3 separate regions of the Homo sapiens genome follow, and regions 1 and 2 are each linked to region 3. The links are contacts of gene promoters, found by promoter capture Hi-C in blood cells and fetal thymus (Javierre and others, 2016). All regions are on one chromosome and are shown on one strand. Each heading gives the region's core, a stretch centred on a gene start or on the middle of the fragment in contact. The rest is flanking DNA. Distances are from core to core; before and after follow the strand shown. Region 1 holds the start of TCEANC (transcription elongation factor A N-terminal and central domain containing). Region 2 overlaps OFD1 (OFD1 centriole and centriolar satellite protein). Region 3 holds the start of ASB11 (ankyrin repeat and SOCS box containing 11).

Region 1 (2,702 bases), core at 151-2,650, 1.7 Mb before region 3:
AATTCTCACTTTTCCATGCTACAATTGAAGTTGAGCCCAATCTCTCTTCCCCACTGCAAGACCCTGTTGCAGTGGTACCTATGTCTATCTCAATGGTCCTGAATAAAGTCTTCCTTACCATGCTTTAACAAGTGACAAGTGTCATTAAATAATTTTTTTTTTTTGAGACCAAGTCTTGCTCTGTCGCTAGGCTGGAGTGCAATGGCTCGATCTCAGCTCACTGCAACCTCCGCCTCCCGGGTTCAAGCGATTCTCCTGCCTCAGCCTCCCAAGTAGCTGGGATTACAAGCACGTGCCACCACGCCTGGCTAATTTTTTGTATTTTTAGTAGAGACGGGGTTTCACCGTGTTAGCCAGGATGGTCTCGATCTCCTGACCTCATGATCCGCCTGCCTCGACCTCCCAAAGTGCTGGGATTACAGGCATGAGCCACCACGCCCAGCCAAATAATTTTTTCTTTAAAAAGGTATTATATAATCCTTAAACATTTTAGCCCTATAATAGACAGCAAGAAAAAAGTAACCCCTGACAGCTCTGAGCTGCCCCGGCAGTCACAGCTGGGCCTTGGTGCTGCGTGGAACATAAATACTTCACAGAACACCATCAGACGTGGCCACTCTTTGACCAGATGGATCAAGACAAAAACAAGACTCCTTCGTAATCACGTGGGAATGCTGAAAAAACGTAAACATTGTCCAAACCACAAAAATGACCAAACATCCCCTATCCCAGTTAATGAGTCACTGGTCTTGTCTCCCCTCCTTTTAGGTAAGATTTATTATGATACTTAATCATACAATCGCCCTCCTTCCTGCCAGCACCCAGTCCAGAGTATTGGATTGGATACTCTGTTTCCCTGAACCTTTCCCCAAATTACCTTGGGGTAAGGCATCAGCAAAGGAGGCTGTCACATTCGTTCAACCATCACTGTGCTTTTACTGGCCCTTTGCAGGCAAAGAATGAGAATATGCACAGATGAGAAGTCCAGGATGCACAAGACCACTCAATTAACATTTACTACTTTCATATCAACTGATGCATGCTAGGATGCTAAAAACACTTTTTGAATTAATTACTGCGTTAAATAGATTCACATTTATGTCTACAGTTATGTGAACATCTAGCTGAGCACTGTCTTGACTGTCCTGAGTAGAAGCAGAAAAGATAAGTTGTAAAGTACATCAACAAACTTTGCTGCTAAAAAACGAAAGTGCAGTTTCTTTCTCTCGGGCCCGGGGCGGGGCCATGGCTCCTCCTCTAGGAAGCCGCGCGAGCGCAGTCCCACGGCAGCCATTTCCCTAGCGCGCATGCACTGGGTCCCAGGACCACGTGCGCCGGCCTGTGGGCTTGGATTGGCTGAGCCTTGACGTTGTCCCAGTCCCGGTGATCGGAAGTTCTCCGTGGGCACTGGGCGGCTGAAGGCTCCGGAACTGCGCCTGCGCTTTTCGGTGAGTCATGCTTCAGGTTTGCCAGGGCCTGTGTCCCGCAAAAAGGCGAGCCCTTATTCCCAGCGGAAGCCCACCCCGGCTCGCGGCAGCTTTCCGGTGCGCCCTGGGCGGCGTAGATCCGAAGGTGCTCGCACCCCCGCCCCTTCCTCTCCGACTGTCGAGGTCGCCAGAGTGGGCTGAACCCTCGGGACTGTCGCTGTTTGTGTGCTGGGTGCCGGGCCGTCATCCCAAGATGATTAGCGGCAGGCTTTGCATGTTGCTCGACCCCACCCACCGGAACTCGAACCCGGGCTAGACCGGGCAGTTGGGCTGGTCCCTTCCTCTCGCTGCACCTTTACTAGGGGTCACCATTAAGGGAAATGGTCCTAGTGCAGTGCTGAGTGGCTGTTCAGTAACCGCTACACCGCTGCCAACATTTGGCATCGTTTCTCTCCATAGAGGGCGGGGCTCCCTGTGAAGCTGGGGAGCTGTTAAGTGGGTTAGGGCTAGAAAGTTACAGTTTCTCTTTAGGCTTTAAAGAGATCTAAAGATCTGAACAGATCTAGGTTATTTTTGACTTGTTACAAACTTCTGGAAACATTGTTTCCAGACCTTTCCTCTCGTTCTTCTCAGGGTTTAGGCCATTTTTGTGCAGATGTGTGCACCTTGCTTACTATAATATTAGCTAATCTTTATAAGTTTTTATATGGATCCAATACCATATTTCGTGCCTACTTTTCCTGGCACTGTATACACTTTTTGGTATAGGTATGCACCTAAGCAAGCATTATCCATATTAGCATCAGTTCTAGAACCGTGGCGTCCCAATAATGATAGCCATTAGTTACATAAGGCTTGATCACTTGAAATGTGGCTAGTCCGAATTGAGATGTGCTGTAAGTGTAAGACACAGTGAATTTTCGAGAATTAGCATGAAAAAGAATGTAAAATATCTCAATTTGTTTATATTAATCACATGTTGAAATGACTATTCTGGATACACTGGGTTAAATAAAATGTATAATTAATTTCACCAATTTTTATTTTTTAACATGACTACTGGAAAATTTTAAATCATATTTGTGGTTTACATGTTATATATATGTTGCACAGCCCTGCTCTAGAAAAGGGTCAACAAACTATGGCCTGCAGCCAAATCCAGCCTGCCTGTTTTTGTAAACAAGTGTTACCAGAGCAAGATCATGCCTATCCATTTATGTTATTTTCTGTATCTGCTGTTGCTGCTACAATAGCAGCAGAGTTGAGTAGTCCATA
Region 2 (2,700 bases), core at 1-2,500, 1.6 Mb before region 3:
CCTGCGATTACCTCTTCCAAGTGCTCTGCACCACCACCCTGTCTCTAGTGCTGAGAATTTCTCCCTCCTCTGATTCCCCAGGCCCAAGGAGCGCTAACAGTATGGCCCTGTTACTAGCCCACCCAGGGAACTCCACCATCCTTTGTGCATACCCTGAATAAGTCAACCTTTATTAAAGGGTTCTTAGATGACCTTGACCGTGAGAGCCATCTGCCTTCTGCCTGGATCCCAACTGCTGCTGTCAGATGCCCAGATCATATTGGATCCCAGGGCTGTCATCAACAGGTAGACCAGATAGAGAGCTCCTTCTGTGCACAGTAGAGGAGAGAAACAGGCTTTCAGGTTAATTTGAGAATTTGAAAGAGTTCTTTTACTTGGAGTAGGACTCCAAGGGTAATAAAGTTTGCATTAACATGCACTAAATTCTTTTGTTGTGAAATTTGAGAGTCAGGATTGCTCTGAGCTCATTTAATAGAATTATTATCATATTTATTGAGTCAGTACAAAGCAAAGAACACTTTAAAACCCCTTTAACTGTTTTTGTTAAGTTAAATAAGAAAACTTAAGGTTGGTAATGACTAGGATTTTTTTTTTTTTTTTACCTTCTTAGGCCTAGCTCAGCCGGCTCCTGAACTTGCAGTCTTTCAGAAAGAACTACGGAAAGCCGAAAAGGCTATAGTGGTTGAGCATGAGGAGTTCGAAAGCTGCAGGCAAGCTCTGCACAAACAACTGCAAGACGAAGTGAGTATTGCTCTTCTTCAGTTCTAGTGTGATACCAGTACACTTCATAGTTACGTAAACTTGGCACAAGTCACACTAGTGTAAATCAGATTTATTTTAACATCAAACATTACTCCCCCAAATATGCTAAAGGTATCCTTTCTCATCTGAGAAAATTCTGCAGTGATAACGTGACTTTATATTCGTAATAGTAATAAAATGGAGAAGAAAGCAAACTCACCTAAACATAAAATTTTCTGAGTGCCTGATGGTGCCCACTGTTATCTCTCGATTCTCACCCTGATAAGTATTACAAACATTCACTGTCTTCTGATTTCTGCCTGCATGCCCTAGAGTTCTTTGATATGACTGAAAAAGATGGTGAAGAACTTGTTTGTGTGTTCTGCTTGTGTTTTTTTTTAATAGGGACCCTGTTGTTTACTGTCATAAAGCTTCTTGGAATTGGCAGAACAAAAAGAGTACAAACATGATAAGAGAACTTTTCCTTTTGAAGCAAGCTGTGATTTGTTTTACATTGATTTCTTTTCCTATTCTGAATCTTTTCAGATTGAGCATTCTGCACAGCTGAAGGCCCAGATTCTAGGTTACAAAGCTTCTGTAAAGAGTTTAACTACTCAGGTTGCCGATTTAAAATTGCAACTGAAGCAAACTCAGACAGGTTAGAGACGTTTTAACCCATAAATATTTTTGTATGTATAAAGCTTCTGGTGTCTGTGAAAATGTAATGATCATAATTTATTGAATATTAATTATTGTTTTAGGGGAAAAGCCATAGAAATATGTGTCATCTTAGAAGTAAAACTCCCTATCCATTTTGGTAATACCATCTGGATCATCAGCAAAAGTATTTTGCTTCATAGGTGCCTCATGGCTTGGGAGAGTCTCATGCCCCAATAGGAAAGGCGTGGTGGTAACATAGAAGTCCCCATATTCATTATAGGATTTCCTTTTTTATTTGTTACCCCAATGTTAACACCAATTCAGTAGTTTTACGGATTCCTTGATAGATATATAAATATACAGGACAAGCAGGGTGGTTTAGCAAAAAGAATATTGCCTTCAGAATCAGAACTGTTCTTCTTTTGGACCCGTTTTGAAGTTGTTTGACCTTGGGCATGTTACTTTAACTTCCTTGGGCCTCAGTCTCCTCATTTGTAATGGGGATAATAATACCTACTGAGCCATGATGAAAAAGATGAAATGGGTTTCAGTCCAGTGCCTGGGACATAAAAGACACTCAGGAAATGGTTATTGGTATCATTTTATTATTGTGTCTTCACTGTGGATGCATCTCTGCCCCTTCCTACTTCGTAAGAAGGATATTAAAGTTCAGATACTTTATTCTTCAGTTGCTTTCAAGTTCAAAGAAAGTACGTATGTGTTACCAGTTCAACTGGGTCTGAGCCTTCCTTGTTCCCACCTGCATTGTTTCCTCATCAGCTCCTTGCTCTCTTCTACCAGCACTTGTTTTATTTTTATCTCTACTCGTTTCTGCTTTTTTCTGTTCCTCATTTTCTTTCAGTTCTGTTTGTGAAACTTCTCACAGCTGAAATCATAGCAGTCTCCTATCAATAAAAAATAGTTGAATGAGGATAGAACTCTTTCGCATGCATGTGTTGCCGAGGGCAAGCTTCTTTCTTGTAGCATCACGGGGAGGCATTGCAGGAGAGAGGGGCAGGTGCACTGGCTTTGCATTAGGAAAGCCCAGTAGCTCTTAGACTTGCTAACCGTGTGACCCAGCCTCAGTAAGCTTTAGTCCCCCCATCTGTAAAATGGGAGCAGTGAGAGTTTCTTGACCACAGTGTTGTTGTGAATGCAGGTCCTCACTTCCTTATATGAAACTCGGGCCATATGCTGTGGATTTCGCAATAGCCCTGGGAGTTCTGAACAGCATCCTATAGTAAAGCACATTAATTATTTTGCAGTCAACTGTATGAATATTCATGCTGGGATAAATAA
Region 3 (2,734 bases), core at 136-2,635:
TGCCCAAATTGACAAATTAAATTAGAAGATAACTTTTCAGATCATGCTTAACTTGAAACTTATCAGAAGCATTACTTTTTTTTTTTTTTTTTGTAACTAGTCAAAGTAACATACCTCCCTGAAATGTGTGACAAATATAATCCCCAAAAGAAATCTCTTTCCATGGTCCGGACCTTCTGATACGTTCTGAAACTTCACAATTCTTCTCATTTTCCCCAGTTAATTGAAGCATTCTGATGCTTCGTCCTTGGAGGTCTTATTTCTTTAGATAAGACTGCTGTTGTCTAGTGTCTTCTGAGTTGTCTAGTGTATTGGAATCACATAAGACTATTTTGAAAGAGAATCCTGGATGCAAATTGAAATGGATACTAGATAAAGAATGATGTAATCCTGGAACCCCTGCAAACACTAAAAATACACGGGGAAATTCTGAACTCTGTTTATGAATAAATACTCCTCTATTAAGTGACAATCCCAGGAGTGACAGGGATATCTGACTCATTTACTTTTGTAGCATCTCACCACAATTAAAGTAAATCATTTCTTGAAAGAAATGGACACTATTCTCTACAAAGCATGAGAATTTAAAATGTTTTGCCCAAATCTTGGCATTTCATGTTAGAATAAACTTTGTTTGGAGTGCTTTGCATGCTACCATATAAAATGGGTTTAGTGAAGAGCTTTTCCTGACAGTGACAAGTGGTTAATCAATTCCAGTTGCAAATGACAGCAAAAAAAATACACATAGCTTGCCACGTTTGCTGCTTTAATTATAATTTATTAGTCATTCTATTTCCTGAGAGAATTTAGTCTGGTTAGAATGCCCTTCATTGTTAAAGTTTGCTTTAAAATATTAAAGAAAATAATTATATACAAGTAATTACTTTGGCTAGTAGAAATGAAGTTTCTCAAAATACTCTTAGTAAGCCACTACCTATTTACTTCTTAAATAACAACTGCTACAAGATCTACGAACTTGCAAAAAATAAAGCTGAAAATCCTCCACAAATTGATGCAGCCAACAGCATTTGCTACTTTAAGTGACAATTTTTCAAACTACCCACTTAAAATCAAAGTATAAATATAATCTGCCTTCCAGAAATACTAGTCATATGAATTATCTAGGAGGGATTTTCTTTAAATATTAGGAACAAATTCATGTACTTTTACCTGAAATTCCACCATAGATCTCTTCTGCTATCCTAGCCGCTTCTTTTCTATTTCCTTTGACGATATAGAAATGGGTTAGGAGAGCCAAAAAAACTTTAATTAAAAGCTTAAAGAAAAAAAACGTAGCAAACATTGTAATAAAAATGTTTTTAAAGCCATAGAAAACAGGACCATCTTCCATTTTGGCTTATGCTCTGTATAGGGTCCTAGGACTGTAAAATTTCACTGAGTTATAATTGGTATCATATGACATCTATTTTAAACCTTCTAGCACTCAGTGCTCCTGTTACCGAGATCTCTGTAGGTTCTAATCTAACTGATTTGGCGACTGCATGTGCTGACTCCACAGCAGTGTTAAATAAACTAAAGAAACTTCCTTCTAACCAGAAACATCCAATAGTTCTAGAACTACATAACTCAGTACTATCTAACAGATAAGATTCATATCCAAACATTTTATATTCCTAAACCCCTATTTTTCCTATTTTATGTTAGAAAGCAGGGTTGGAAAGATAGAAACTTCTTGGCTTCCACAGAAACAAAGCAAGTTATTTGACATACAAAAGAAGTGCAAATATGCTGTATGTTCTAAGTGGGAAATACTACTCCCTGGAGCATTTCATTTTCTCTTAATTCTGAAGTTTATAGAGGATTAAATCCAAATCTAAAATATGACCAGTTAAAAAAGACCATTTACCTGGCCGGGCGCGGTGGTTGACTCCTGTAATCCCAGCACTTTGGGAGGCTGAAGCAGGCGGATCACCTGAGGTCAGGAGTTTGCGACCAGCCTGGCCAACATGGCGAAACCCCCGTCTCTACTAAAAGTACAAAAATTAGCTGGGCGTGGTGGCAGGTGCCTGTAATCCCAGCTACTCAGGAGGCTGAGGCAGGAGAATTGCTTGAACCTGGGAGGCGGAGGTTGCAGTGAGCCGAGATCGCGCCACTGCACTCCAGCCTGGGTGACAAGAGCAAGATTCTGTCTCAAAAAAAAAAAAAAAAAAGACAATTTACCCTAAAGCTGTATGTATGTATGTATGCATGTATGCACGTATGTATGTATTTAGTTTTAAGATGGAGTCTTACTCTGTTGCCCAGGCTGGAGTGCAATGGTGCGATCGCGGCTCACTGCAACCTCTGCCTCCTGGGTTCAAGCGATTCTCCTGCCTCAGCCTCCCAAGAAGCTGGGATTACAGGCATGCGTCACCACGCCTGGATAATTTTCGTATTTTTAGTAGAGACGAGGTTTCGCCATGTTGGCCAGGCTGGTCTCGAACCCCTGACCTCAGGTGATCCACCCACTTTGGCCTCCCAAAGTGCTAGGATTACAGGTGTGAGCCACTGCACCCGGCCAAGCCTGTATTTAATAAAAGGCCTATCTTGGATGCCTCTCCAAGTAAGTGTCACACTAGAAGCATCAGACTACTCGCCATGGTAGTTCCATCTGGGACAAGGTCCCATGGCAAGGTTCCCTCCTGATCATTCACTTGCATTTCAAGCATTGGTAAAGGTGGTGCCCATTTCTGAAAAATGTGGGCTATCCTTGATCATGGAAGAGTCATAGTGA

The links. Contacts are between HindIII fragments. The CHiCAGO score rates a contact against its expected background, and 5 or more counts as called.
Region 1: a contact is called between the fragment with the promoter of TCEANC here and the fragment with the promoter of ASB11 in region 3, in 1 of 17 cell types (neutrophils). The highest score is 5.7, in neutrophils.
Region 2: a contact is called between a fragment that was not itself captured here and the fragment with the promoter of ASB11 in region 3, in 1 of 17 cell types (total CD4 T cells). The highest score is 5.7, in total CD4 T cells.

The regions. Positions count from the first base shown.
Region 1 is chrX:13,651,741-13,654,442 of GRCh38, forward strand. It overlaps TCEANC (transcription elongation factor A N-terminal and central domain containing), which reads left to right and starts at 1,401. Exons shown (of 5, transcript NM_001297563.2): 1 at 1,401-1,448. It overlaps LOC107985657 (a long non-coding RNA gene), which reads right to left and starts at 1,699. Exons shown (of 1, transcript NR_171573.1): 1 at 757-1,699. RefSeq lists enhancers at 1,084-1,273, 1,534-1,623 and a silencer at 1,202-1,513. The HindIII fragment of the contact is 12,822 bases long and covers 1-2,702 here.
Region 2 is chrX:13,757,050-13,759,749 of GRCh38, forward strand. It overlaps OFD1 (OFD1 centriole and centriolar satellite protein), which reads left to right. Exons shown (of 23, transcript NM_003611.3): 14 at 611-741; 15 at 1,288-1,399. Among named protein-coding and RNA genes, the nearest start is that of OFD1, 24 kb to the left of the region's middle. RefSeq lists an enhancer at 2,305-2,394. The HindIII fragment of the contact is 161 bases long and covers 1,171-1,331 here.
Region 3 is chrX:15,314,255-15,316,988 of GRCh38, forward strand. It overlaps ASB11 (ankyrin repeat and SOCS box containing 11), which reads right to left and starts at 1,386. Exons shown (of 7, transcript NM_080873.3): 1 at 1,171-1,386. The coding sequence starts at 1,351. The HindIII fragment of the contact is 9,481 bases long and covers 1,275-2,734 here.